Regions from separate parts of the Homo sapiens genome. Here regions 1 and 2 are each linked to region 3. The links are contacts of gene promoters, found by promoter capture Hi-C in human tissues and cell types (Jung and others, 2019). All regions are on one chromosome and are shown on one strand. Each heading gives the region's core, a stretch centred on a gene start or on the middle of the fragment in contact. The rest is flanking DNA. Distances are from core to core; before and after follow the strand shown. Region 1 has its middle 44 kb from the start of FRMD1. Region 2 overlaps AFDN (afadin, adherens junction formation factor). Region 3 holds the start of KIF25 (kinesin family member 25).

The links. Contacts are between HindIII fragments. The study calls those that stand out against the background at their distance.
Region 1: a fragment that was not itself captured here is called in contact with the fragment with the promoter of KIF25 in region 3 in 4 of the 25 tissues and cell types used here (H1 embryonic stem cells, liver, mesendoderm cells and 1 more).
Region 2: a contact is called between a fragment that was not itself captured here and the fragment with the promoter of KIF25 in region 3, in 2 of the 25 tissues and cell types used here (hippocampus and pancreas).

The regions. Positions count from the first base shown.
Region 1 is chr6:168,121,378-168,125,492 of GRCh38, forward strand. No RefSeq gene overlaps it. Among named protein-coding and RNA genes, the nearest start is that of FRMD1, 44 kb to the left of the region's middle. RefSeq lists enhancers at 1-229, 3,662-4,115. The HindIII fragment of the contact is 5,968 bases long and covers 1-4,115 here.
Region 2 is chr6:167,909,995-167,914,088 of GRCh38, forward strand. It overlaps AFDN (afadin, adherens junction formation factor), which reads left to right. Exons shown (of 34, transcript NM_001386888.1): 14 at 1,107-1,168; 15 at 1,290-1,495; 16 at 3,409-3,429. Among named protein-coding and RNA genes, the nearest start is that of HGC6.3, 68 kb to the right of the region's middle. The HindIII fragment of the contact is 6,595 bases long and covers 1-4,094 here.
Region 3 is chr6:167,996,316-168,000,425 of GRCh38, forward strand. KIF25 (kinesin family member 25) reads left to right here and starts at 1,356. Exons shown (of 13, transcript NM_030615.4): 1 at 1,356-2,555; 2 at 2,777-3,005. KIF25-AS1 (KIF25 antisense RNA 1) reads right to left here and starts at 762. Exons shown (of 4, transcript NR_103750.1): 1 at 591-762; 2 at 1-286. The HindIII fragment of the contact is 6,770 bases long and covers 1-1,911 here.

The DNA.
Region 1 (4,115 bases), core at 481-2,980, 130 kb after region 3:
GCAGAGAGAGACCAGCCCCACCTCCTGCCTGTCTCACCATGGGTGTCTTCATCTGTGGGCACCCTTCTGTGGTGACCTTTGGGGCGGCTGGCCTGTGGTGAGCCTGGGCTTGCCGCTGCATCAGGGTGGTTTCCCATCCGTTGGAAACTGAAGCTTCTTAGCCCCTGACAGCGGACAGGCCATGCAGTTCACCATGAGGGGAACAGAACTGTCCCGCACCCGCACCCCCTTCCTTCCTAGATGGAGAAGCCTGACGGTGAGATTCTGCAGCCGAAAGATGAAACCACCTGGGGCCAAGGTTGCTACAAAAATGAGTTTCTCCAATTTCACTTGTCCCCACAGTAGATTTTGGTTGAACAAGAAATAAGCTTGTAATGATTCAAGCCCCTGAGAATTTGTGGTCATTTTTAATGGCCTCATAAGCCTACCCCATCTGGATTAATAGACAGGAAGGGTTGGAGAGAGGAAGGGGCAGGGTAGGTAGAAAAGGGAGAGGGGCAGGAGGGAAGGAGAGAAAGAGGTAGGGGGAGGGAGAGGGGGAGAGAGGGAGAAGGAGTGGGGAGACGGGAGAAGAGAGAGAGATTCTCTGTTAACTGCCTCAAGGAAAGGGATCAATGCATATGCAAAGCCGAGTGTGCTGCAGAGGATTCCAACAGGTCTCAGTTTCATTAGCGACCAACTGAGGCCATGATTTTAACCCAGTCTTTGGAAATTAAACCATCTCTTAGAGGAGAAGCATTTGCGTCAAGCATCGCCGAACCTCCCAGCAGGGATTCACACAGGGTTTACGTTGCCAGCTGGGTCTGGGTCCCGCGGCGGCACTGCCACCTGTCTCAGGAGGGCTTCGGTTCAAGTTGGTGCTGTCGCTTTGAAGGCCACCCATGGCTTCATGGACGTCAAGAGGGTTGGGCCAGGCTGGAGAGAGGTTGAGGCTGGGAGAGAATCACAAGAATCTCCCACACCTCCTTGTCTGGGAGACTTTGTGCTTAGACTCCATATTCCGCTTATAGGATTTTCTAAGCCTCGCGTGGAAACACCATGTCACACTATGGAAGTGGCATTAAGCTGCAGTCAGGGTCCTGGGGCCTAGGTTCTGGTTCTAACCTCTCGTGGCCACTCACTGGCACACTCCGTACCCAGGATGACCACTGTCGTGGTGTGCCCTCCACGAGCTCACCTCTGTCCCCTTCTCTGAGGTCATTCTGATTTGAAACGTTCTTGATGGGCGGGAGCTGGTTGGATGATTTGAACACTTAATGCTGCACCCTGTGCTGTCCCTCTTTGTCCAGAGACGCATTTGACACAGCAGCCAGGATCCCCCTTGGCCGCTGCTTATGGCTGAGTCCTGACTCTGTGGCCTTTTCTGTGCTTGGGGGTGACTCTTACCCTTTCTCAGTCCGAGGGTGATGGCTGATCTGATCACTGATTGCATTGCCAGCTGGGAGCCCTAGAGACACACCAGCTTCCATGGCCGTGTTTGGGACGGCCCCCAGTTCTTCAACAGCTGACATTGTTTGGCTCTGTGTCCCCACCCAAATCTCATGCTGAATTGTAATCCCCATGTGTTGTGGGAGAGACCTGGTGGGAGGTGATTGGTTCATGGGGGCAGTTTCCCCCATGCTCTTCTTGCGATAGTGAGTTCTCATGAGATCTGGTTGTTTGAAAGGGGATAGCACCCCTTTGCCCTCTTCCCTGCTGCCATGTGAAGATGTGCCTGCTTCCCCTTCACCTTCCACCATGATTGTAAGTTTCCTGAGGCCTCCGCAGCCATGCCTCCTGTACAGCCTATAGAACAGTGAGTCAATTAAACCTCTTTTCTTTATAGATTACCCAGTCTCAGGTAGTTCTTCATAGCAGTGTGAGAATGGACTCATATCACAGCGGACAGCACCCCGGTGTTCTCACCCCTCTGACATCATGGTGCACTCAGGGAATGAAATGAAGACCAGACTCCTGCTGGCTCAGGGTCACCCATCCACTCAGTCCCAATGCACAGCAGCATGGGGGAGCGATCACTAAGTTCATTTACCCCTTAGGGGGAGTGAATTAACCTCACCCAAGCTTTCATCTTAGCCTGATTCACTCAAGGGATTAAACCCATCTGGGGATTATAGACTGGGGCTTGTGAGTCCTCTTAGGTGTTACAAACTGTCTTTTCACGCCTTCAAATTGGGAGGATTTTTATCACTGATGAGTTTTGCCACTGAAAGTGTGGTCTCAGGACTGGCAACCTCAGCTTCCCTGGGAGCTGCTTAGAAATGCAGACTCTCAGGTCCACCCCAGACCCAGTCAGGATCATCCTAACAAGCCCCCGCTCCTGGGGCTCCTATCAGGTTCAGTGTGGGAGGTGCTTCTCTGGATGGTGTTTCTCCAACTTCAGCCTTCAAGAGGGTCACCTGCTGGGCCTGTTAAAGTGCAGATGACTAGGCCCACCCCAGAGTGGCTGATTCGGGAGGTCAGAGGGCTGGACGGGGCCTGGGAATTTGCCTTTCTGACGAGCTTCCAGGTGAGGCTGATCTGCTGGGTTTGGATCACACTTAGAGATCCACTATTCTAGCAGGCCTCCAACTTTTTGATCTCAGGATCCCTTTGTCCTCTTCAAATGTATCAGGGGCTCCAGAGAGCTTTTGCTTATGGGCTACAGCCACTTATATTTGTGGGTTTTACCCACTTACTTATACTGATACATAGATGTATTTATATATGGGATGATATGTACATTCTATTCTCACCAGGTATTGAGCATTTGAGGCAATTTACCTGAGCCTGTTGACTTTAAAGATAAGGAGGCTGTTGATTTTCAGAGCACTACGTGTAAACGCTGATGGTTGTCTCAGGCATTTTTTCCTAATCTGATGGAGTTTTTCTAGAAAATTGTATTTCCAGAAGAAACACAACAGGAGAGTGAGCTGGTTATTGACACTTTGCCCCATGCTCTCCATGGTGTGGTTTTCAATTATGCAAATGAACCCAGAGGTTTGGCAATGTGCAGCTGCTTTGCATAAAAATGCAGATAAACAAATAAGCCTACCCCAGCTTACGCACACACATTCCGCCAGCGAGGATCGTATTGCCACCTTCCTCACCCTCAGAATCCACACGGGCCCCAAACAGAAAAGAACCAGTTTGTATAAGGTGATTATTTTAACAGGATTAAAAAAGAATTTAATGTTTGAATAGGTAATATATTCATGATTCAAAAATAAAAATGATATTAATGGATACACATTGTGAAACCCCCCTCACCTGCCCCCCCATCCCTAGAATAACCGCATTTATTAGTTTCTTCTGAACCTTCCAGGGTGATTTATACAGGTATAAGGAAACACAAACATATACTCTTGTTGTCGGCATTAACACAATCTTAGCGGTATGTTTGTGTCAGTGCATTGTCTGTATCTTTGTGAATTTGATGGGCATGTGGCTCATTTCCACCTTGAGCTGATGTAAATGATACTGCAGTGATTCACCTGAGTCATACATTGTTCACATGGTACAAAGATGACAGTGAGAGCATGGGACCCACGAACTGCAGAAGCAAAGGGGTGGCTTTCCACCGGTCTGTCTCCATGCATGGGTTTCCGATGTTCAAATGGCCCCGGGATAAACAATGCCTCCCATCCCTCACCAAACATATTTGGGGGTACCCTTCCCTCACCCAGGGGACGGAGTGATCTGGTGGAACTTCTACTACCCACCTCAGACGCAGGCCAGGAGTCCATGGATGACCCCGACCATCCACCCTGCCTCTCCTGGCTTGGCGAAGCCGCATGTGAGTCCTCAGGCCTCCTTGGCTGTGGCTGGAGCTGGCGGGAGGAGCATTTGGAGGGGCAGGGTGGCCAAACGTGACACTGGGGTATTCAGAGGAGACCATGACTGGGATTCCTACTTTATAGAAGGGGAGTTCATTAATTCGTGAGGGAAAGAAAGTGAACAAGAGGTTCAGGTTATTTGGACGGAGGGGGTCACTGTCCCAGGCCCTGACGGCTCTCGGCGCCCAGCACCCCCCACCACTATTCACGCCTCCCCTTTCTCTTCCCTGAGCAGGGGCTGCGGCTCCCCGGGGGAGAGGACATAGGTCCTGGCTTACTGGCCCGATTGTCTCTGGTTCTCAC
Region 2 (4,094 bases), core at 955-3,454, 85 kb before region 3:
CAGTGGGTAGCGAACTTAGAGTAATAAGTAAATGGCTTGAAGTTCTAATCACATGGCTAAGTGAAAGAATAAGCTGAGCATTATTCATTGAGAAAAGCATAAATCCACAAAGATAAGGAAATCTAAACTGGATTTGTAATTTATTATCTTACACATTTAAAGAGTCTGTGCCTAGCAATGGCTTTCAAAATGCTTTTGAACTGTGGTTATAACACAAGATTATATCTTACATTGTGCTCTGGTGAACACACATACAAATGTGTATTCAACTGAAAGAGTAGTTTCACAAAACAGCCTTCTGCCCTGCCAATGGGTGATGACACACTGTTTGAAGAATATTTTTATAGAGATAGAAATGAACCTAACTTTTGAATTAATTTGATCTGAATACCTGGAAATAGATAAACATCAGCACAATGCTAGTTTTTATAAATGTTCCAAATTATAGTTTCTTTGTATTTATAATTTTTGACAGTTCCTTATTTGTGTAGTGTCAGGCTAAATGGTGGAAGGGACCTGGAATTTATGTGACCGTAAGAAGAAATGTGAGTGAGTAGAACATCTCTTTATAAGGCATGCGTCACTGTAAGCATTGGAAAATGATGATAGTAATGGCTGAAGGAGACTTGCCGTGGTCAGCTTGTCTAACCCTGTGTCAGCAGAGAAAGACAAAGTCCAGGTCTTAGGAAGCTTTTCCCTTTCAGTATAAGAACTCCGTTTCAAGCTTGGCATGGTTAGTTTTTCTTTGTGTCACTTAGTACTTTGTTTTCAGTGTTACCTGAGCCATAGCTGTAGCAGATGCAAGACAGACCGATCCCTGTACTAGACATGAAGTGTTCATTAATAATCCAGAATCACGTCAGATCTGCTGTCATGGCGGCGGCATATACTTCAAGGAACTAACCTTCTTAGAGGAGTCGTGATAAGATCACTCCCAATGCATTATTTGATTAGGCTACATCTGAAAACAAGGGATATTTTATTATTTTACGTTGGAAAGATTAGTATATAGATTTAAAAAGTAGTTGCAGAAATCTACACAGGTTGTCAGTAATATTGTTAGCCATGTGACCTTATTTTAAGTGATGTCAGCTTTCTTCTTTTAGAACACAGGATGCTTCTGGGCCTGAGCTGATACTACCTGCAAGCATTGAATTCAGGGAAAGTTGTGAGTAATTTCAGATTTCATTGTCAATGAATTATTTCTTGATCCATTTTACTCCATCTGATTTTCACATTCGTTTTTATTCTTTTTTCCTTTTTTCTTTGTTTTTGAAATCTTTCCACAGCTGAAGATTCATTTTTGTCTGCCATTATAAATTATACTAATAGCTCTACAGTCCACTTTAAGTTGTCCCCTACATATGTATTATATATGGCATGCCGGTATGTATTGTCCAACCAGTACAGACCTGACATCAGCCCTACAGAGCGCACACATAAAGTCATTGCAGTCGTCAACAAGATGGTGAGCATGATGGAGGGTGTCATCCAGGTACGTTCCAGCCGGCCAGCCATGCTCCTCCAGTGATTGTGGTTGTAATTGCTAAGCCAGTGAATTCAGCTTCTTTAAGGCTTCTCATTTGGTTACAAGATTTTTTTCTAAAATAAAAGTTATGTAAATATTGTAGGAAAATGTATAACTTTAAAGAGTTGAAAGGAAATGCAAGCTTTTTTCTATTTTGTTTTCCCTGTAAAACTTCAGCATAAGTGAAGTTAACTTGTAGTAATAGTTGTGAGAAAGTGCTGAGACTGTTGTGGGCTTTTGTAGAATTTTTTCTGTAAATAATTTGTTGAGATGAAGTTCATATAATATTAACCATTTTGAAGTGAACAATTCAGTCGCATTTGGTGCATTCACAGTGTTGTGCAGCCACCACCCCTGTCGGTTCCAAAACGTCTCCATCACCTCAGAGCGATACCCCTCAAGTAGTTCCTGGGGTTTTTCTCTTCCCCCGTTCCCTGGTAACGCCTTCTTAGACTTTTTAAAAATGGTTCTCAAAAGTCACTTGCTCCTGTGTAATGAGCCTAGACGTTGGTAGTAATTGGGCTTTTTGATAGCACATGTGTAGGTGTAATGGACATTGTAACATACTTCTCACTTAAAATGAAATTCTGTCATAAACCTGTTTTCAAAATTTCAGAAGATAAAGGTATTTTGTTGGTAGAATGGTTTGACTCCTTTACGTACTTTCTGTCCCGATCTACAGTTGATAAAATTTTCATAGCAGTTTTTCATCTACAGATGATTTGAAGATTTAATCTTTAAAGTTCTTAAAAGTAAATGTACAGATTTTTTCAGTTTTTCTGAATCACTTGTCAATGTTGTTATTTAACTTAATAAAACTCTAGTTATATAATGTTAATAACATAGATAGATTGGTTGCTTTTCTCCTGGCAGGATCATTTGAGGGAAACTAAGATCTTTTAGTTCCTTCAGAATTGTTTTCAAAGGCCAGAATTTTTCAAGAAATGTTTCTTTTATATTTGAGTGATTAGCATGAGTTTGATAGGGTTATGCTTCTTTTACCCAAGTTAGGAAATAGGTAAAAAAGAAAGTCATTTTATTTGGATACCGTTTTGTTACTTTCATGTCATTATTTTATAAACAAACATGGATTTCCTTTTCAGTTGTCATTCAAAGCCATTGTCTGTCTTCTATCATGTTTGGACTTACTAAGCCTGTTTCGAGTTGTGAGACACCTATCATAAAACTACCCTTGATAGCCTTTTCCTTATTGATGTGAACTAGTCAGTGAAATCACCATTATCAAACAAGTCTTTTAAACTTCAGATTTAGGGTTAGTATCCAGTGGGGGGAATCTTAAAGTAGTGGAAAAGAACTGTGGTAGTGAATAATTTAAATTCTATTTTCAAAAAACAAAGAATTTGCTCCCTTTAGTATAGGTGTAAGTTATTTATACACTTTTAAATTCTCATCTTCTCAGCTTTTATTTTGATTGTTTCTTGGTCTTTCCTGTCTCTTCCATTCCTATTAATTAATCTAGAGGGATGGACTTTCACCTTATTAGGTACCTTTTAAGTAAGTAGTAAGCACACCATATCACTGAAAGATGTTCGTTCACAAGTCCTTCCATTGTAAATCTTTTAAAGAGATCAGTGTGTTCATGTGTGTTTATGGTAACATCATATTTATTGATAAACTCTAAAAATACAGTTAGTTATTGTGCCAGTGGTAAGAACATAAAACTAATCCTTTAGGTCGTATACTTCTAAAGGTGCTTCAGAACCATAAATGAAAATGTTATTTTGGGAATAACATAACTAAATGTCGTACCTTCATGTCGTACCTTCATATTAGTGTTTTGATTTTTTTAAACTATCATGATTGTTTACAAGTTTCTTTCTCTCGTTCTGCTTGATTTCCCCTCGTCTGTTTTTCTCCAGGAAGTAGACCAGGTTGACCAGGTAGGACATCTGCTGGGAGCTGATCCTAGCTGTGTTGCTTAGCCAAGTTTCTCATGCTGCTCCCATGTCAAATAAGTAATACAACAGCTGGACTGAACAGCTCATAACACTCATTCAGCAACTGAGACATGCAGTACTAAAACCCTTTTTGACTGTGCAACCTTTATCGGCATTTCATAATTTCTGCTTAATGCACTTCAGTGTGGATATGAAATGACAAAAGTTCTGTTTCTTCTCTTTATTATTTATCCTTGGTTCCTATTCTTTGGATCTCATCTGAGGTTGCCTGGCCTGCACATGTGGTCGGGAGAGGATGTGATAGATCAGTACTTGATACTGAGTTGCATGGTGTCCAAGCCAGTGACTACAAGTATCAGGGTGGCTGTGGGTAACCATGGATACATGTATGTATACTGCACAGACTACCAGATAATGCACGGTCTACAATTTGGTGTTATATTATTTGATATCTCCATTTCTCCGCTGATTCCATCTATAAATTGTAGCTAACTGAATCCATATGTCTATGTGCATGAATCCTAAGAAATAGTTGCAGTGGTTATTTACTTCCCATTGCTATGTATGCACCCAAATTATTTTGCAAATATCTGGTATCTGTGGTAAATACCTTGGTGAAATGGGAAGGTACTGGTCTATCTTCAGCA
Region 3 (4,110 bases), core at 106-2,605:
GTGGGGCCAGGTCCCCCAGGCGAGCTCTGTGAGTCCTTGGTCGTGGTGGAGACAGCGCAGCCTGGGTCCAAAGCAGTGAGGAGCACAGGCCACAGCACGCAGCCGGCCCTGGAGGACTCCATTATTTTTAAAAATGTCTCCCATACTTAGAGAAAGGAATTTGACCTGCTGGGCCCCATGGATGTCCTCTCCGGTAAAATGCCTCCGTCCCTTTGTCCTTTCAGCATGCCAGTCAAAGGTGGCGCACCTGGAGCGGGCCTTGCAGGACGTCAGTGCGCGTCACCAGCTGGAGAGGCAGAGAAGGAAGGTCCCGCACAACAGCCTGGTGGTGGGTGTGGGCGTCAGGGGAGACCTGGGGCGGCCCCGGGGAGAGGCCCACGCAGAACGTGCAGAAGCCTCCTCGCCGGAGGGACAGCGGGAGGGACAGCGGGGGGACAACAGGGGGGACAGCGGGGGGGGGACAGCGGGGGTGTGACAGCGGGGGGGACAGCGGGGGGGGACAGCAGGGGTGGACAGAGAGGTGGACAGCAAGGGGGACAGCGGGGCGGCCTGGCCGGAGGGCAGAGGGGCAGAGCTGCGGGGGCTGCGACCTGCGTCCTCTTCACCCAGGAGGCGATGGCAGCTGGAGGACGGGTGAGGGCGCCGCAGGCTGATTTAGGCTTTCGGGGTCACTCTGGCTGCTCGGTCGGGAGGCCACGACGGGGAGCAAAGGGGATGGCTGCAGTGTCACGGGGGCTGGTGGCCTGGGCCACATTGGTGGCGATGCAGGAAGTGGGACCGGCTGCTGTGAGGCACAAGGAAAGAGCTGTAGCGGGCAGTTGGGGGCGGGGGAATCTGCAGAGATGGGGGCGGGGGAATCTGCAGAGATGGGGGCGGGGGAATCTGCAGAGATGGGGGGCGGGGGAATCTGCAGAGATGGGGGGTCGGGGGAATCTGCAGAGATGGGGGGCGGGGGAATCTGCAGAGATGGGGGGTCGGGGGAATCTGCAGAGGTGGGGGCGGGGGAATCTGCAGAGATGGGGGCGGGGGAATCTGCAGAGATGGGGGCGGGGGAATCTGCAGAGATGGGGGGCGGGGGAATCTGCAGAGATGGGGGGCGGGGGAATCTGCAGAGATGGGGGGCGGGGGAATCTGCAGAGATGGGGGGTCGGGGGAATCTGCAGAGATGGGGGGCGGGGGAATCTGCAGAGATGGGGGGCGGGGGAATCTGCAGAGATGGGGACTTGCGCGGGAAAAGCAAGGATTTTGCTGTAACTGGAGATGCCGGTGGAGACTGCCCCTGCCCCTGCCCCTGCCCCTTCCTCACCAGCACCTTCCACCCACGTCTCTCACTGCCCATTAACAAGACCCAGAGGCTCTCGTGCTTTCTTGGTCGAAGGTATGAGACCTGAGATCCCATGAAATTTAATGTAAAGTCTCAGGGTTTGATTTTGCAACACGAGGATGCCAAGGTGGATGATTGAGTGGGTGACCCTCGCTTCTGTGAGGTTTGATTTTGATGGTTGCACTTTGGCCAGTTTCTCCGAATTCCACCTGCCCGAGGCCCACGAAGCCAGTGTTCCTGCGAAGCTTCTCTTCCCTGGCCATGCCGAGAGGTTCTCCAGCTGTTAGATGTGTCAAAGAATAATTCTCATTTTAAGCATCTACTTATGTAGTTCAGTGCTCCAAACATTGATATAAGAGAACATTTATTGAGTGCTTCCTGTGTACCAAGTACTTTTGAAACCATTTGGTGTATTTTCTTATTTAATCTTCACAATAGCACCACCTCTCTGGGTTGCTATAAAGACAAAGGGAGATATCAGTGAAGCACCTGGCACTTCAGAAAGTCTCACTACGCTGCAGCTTTTTTTTTTTTTAATCTGGAGCATGAAAAAGATAATATGAACCTTCCTAAGATGGAGTCAAGTCCCACAAGGAAGAATTGGTTGTGGAAGTTTCTGAGTGTTCCACCTCAAGCCTGGTCTCCTGGTCTAGCTGAGGAGCGTGCAGTGCGCGGCCCATGGAGAATATGCAGGCAGAGGCTGATCCCAGCTTCTGTGGGTTCATAGAGACCAGACGGAGGCTGTAAATCATTGGCCTATGACACCCACTTGGTTTTCAAAATGTAGAAGGAGCTGCTCAGCATGACAGGGTGGATAAACTTGCTGTGGATCCAAGACAAGATTTCAGAATGGATTTGGCAAGTTCTGAGCACATACGGAGAAGATGTGTTGCTCACTGGAAACCAGTGGAGTTTATGAGAATAAAAAGCTTCTAATTTCCTTCCAGTCATTAAATCAAGGAAATATGACAGATACTGAATTTCCAAAATCCCCTCTAAAATGCCTAAAATGTCGAGCCCAGGATGCCATTCAAAGGGATTTTCCTTGGTACTTATTACCAAGGGATACCCCTTTGCCAAGTGAACACATTTGTGAAGTATGAATCCAGAAGTTTAAAATAACTGTTCATGGCCGGGCACGGTGGCTCATGCCTATAATCCCAGAACTTTGGGAGGCCGAGGCGGGCGCATTACCTGAGGTCAGGAGTTCGAGACCAGCTTGGCCAACATGGTAAAAACCCTTCTGTACTAAAAATACAAAAATTAGCTGGGCGTGGTGGTGGGCACCTGTCATCCCAGCTACTCTGGGGGCTGAGGCAGGAGAATCACTTGAACCTGGGAGGCGGAGGTCGCAGTGAGCTGAGATTGCATCACTGCACTCCAGCCTGGGCGACAGAGCAAGACTCTGGCTCAAAAAATAAATAAATAAAATAACTGTTCACTACCCTGCAGGGGTCTTTCGAAGTGGAGACAGGTGCTGCAGATCTCACGGCCGCGTCTCAGGAGCTGGTGCCCGGTGCACGTTCAGTGGGGGATGCTCCGCAGTGCAGGCTCGCGCCCGGGTTGACACGCAGACCTCTTGATCATTGCAGGAGCTGAAACGAAATATCAGAGTTCACTGTCGGATTCGTCCTTTGTTGCCTTTTGATAGTGAATCCGACGATCCAGTTTTGCAGAGCAGGTAACCTGTGTTTGCACGGTGTGTGTATGTCTGTGTGCTCAGGGAAAAGACAGAGGAGTGGCACAATTTTAAATGCCGTCTACTGTCCTGTCCCCGGTCCCAAAGCAGGACATTCTCGAGTTGTGGGTGGGGGCTCTGTTTAAGGATGGCGCTGTCTTGCTGACAGTGGACACTCTGCAGCCCTCTGTAATACGGCCTGCAAAAGGCCAAACTGCCTGAGCAGGCCTCTCGTGCGTGGTAGTGGTTCTGCACCTGAGAGGGCGTCCGTCTTTTCGTGGTTTGCCTCTGCGGGGTCCGACCGAACAGGGACAGGCTTTGAATGGACTTTTCCCTTTATGTCACTATATCAAAAAGGGAGCACCCTGCCTTTATGAACCCCAAAGACCACCCACTCCGCCATGCAGGCAGTCAGTGAGTATTGACTCAACTGATACTTTTGACTTAGAGAAAGTTTTGATGGTATTCATGGATACAGCAAAATTATCTGAAGTTCATTTACTCAAATGCTTACTTGAAAACCATACTCAATATGACTTACTTCCTTCCCCATGAAACAAACCCCCTGGAAATCCCCACTCCCATCCTGACCACACCTGACCCTCCCCACTCCCATCCTGACCACACCTGACCCTCCCCACTCCCATCCTGACCACACCTGACCCTCCCCACTCCCATCCTGACCACACCTGACCCTCCCCACTTCCATCCTGTCTACACCTGACCCTCCCCACTCCCATCCTGACCACACCTGACCCTCCCACTCCCATCCTGACCACACCTGACCCTCCCCACTCCCATCCTGTCTACACCTGACCCTCCCCACTCCCATCCTGTCTACACCTGACCCTCCCCACTCCCATCCTGACCACACCTGACACTCCCCACTCCCATCCTGACCACACCTGCCCCTCCCCACTCCCATCCCGACCACGCCTGACCTTCTCGCCCTCCCTCCATAAACCTGCCCCTCCCCACTCCCATCCTGACCACACCTGCCCCTCCCCACTCCCATCCTGACCACACCTGGCCCTCCCCACTCCCATCCCGACCACGCCTGACCTTCTCACCCTCCCTCCATAAAGCTGCCCTTCCCCACTCCCATCCT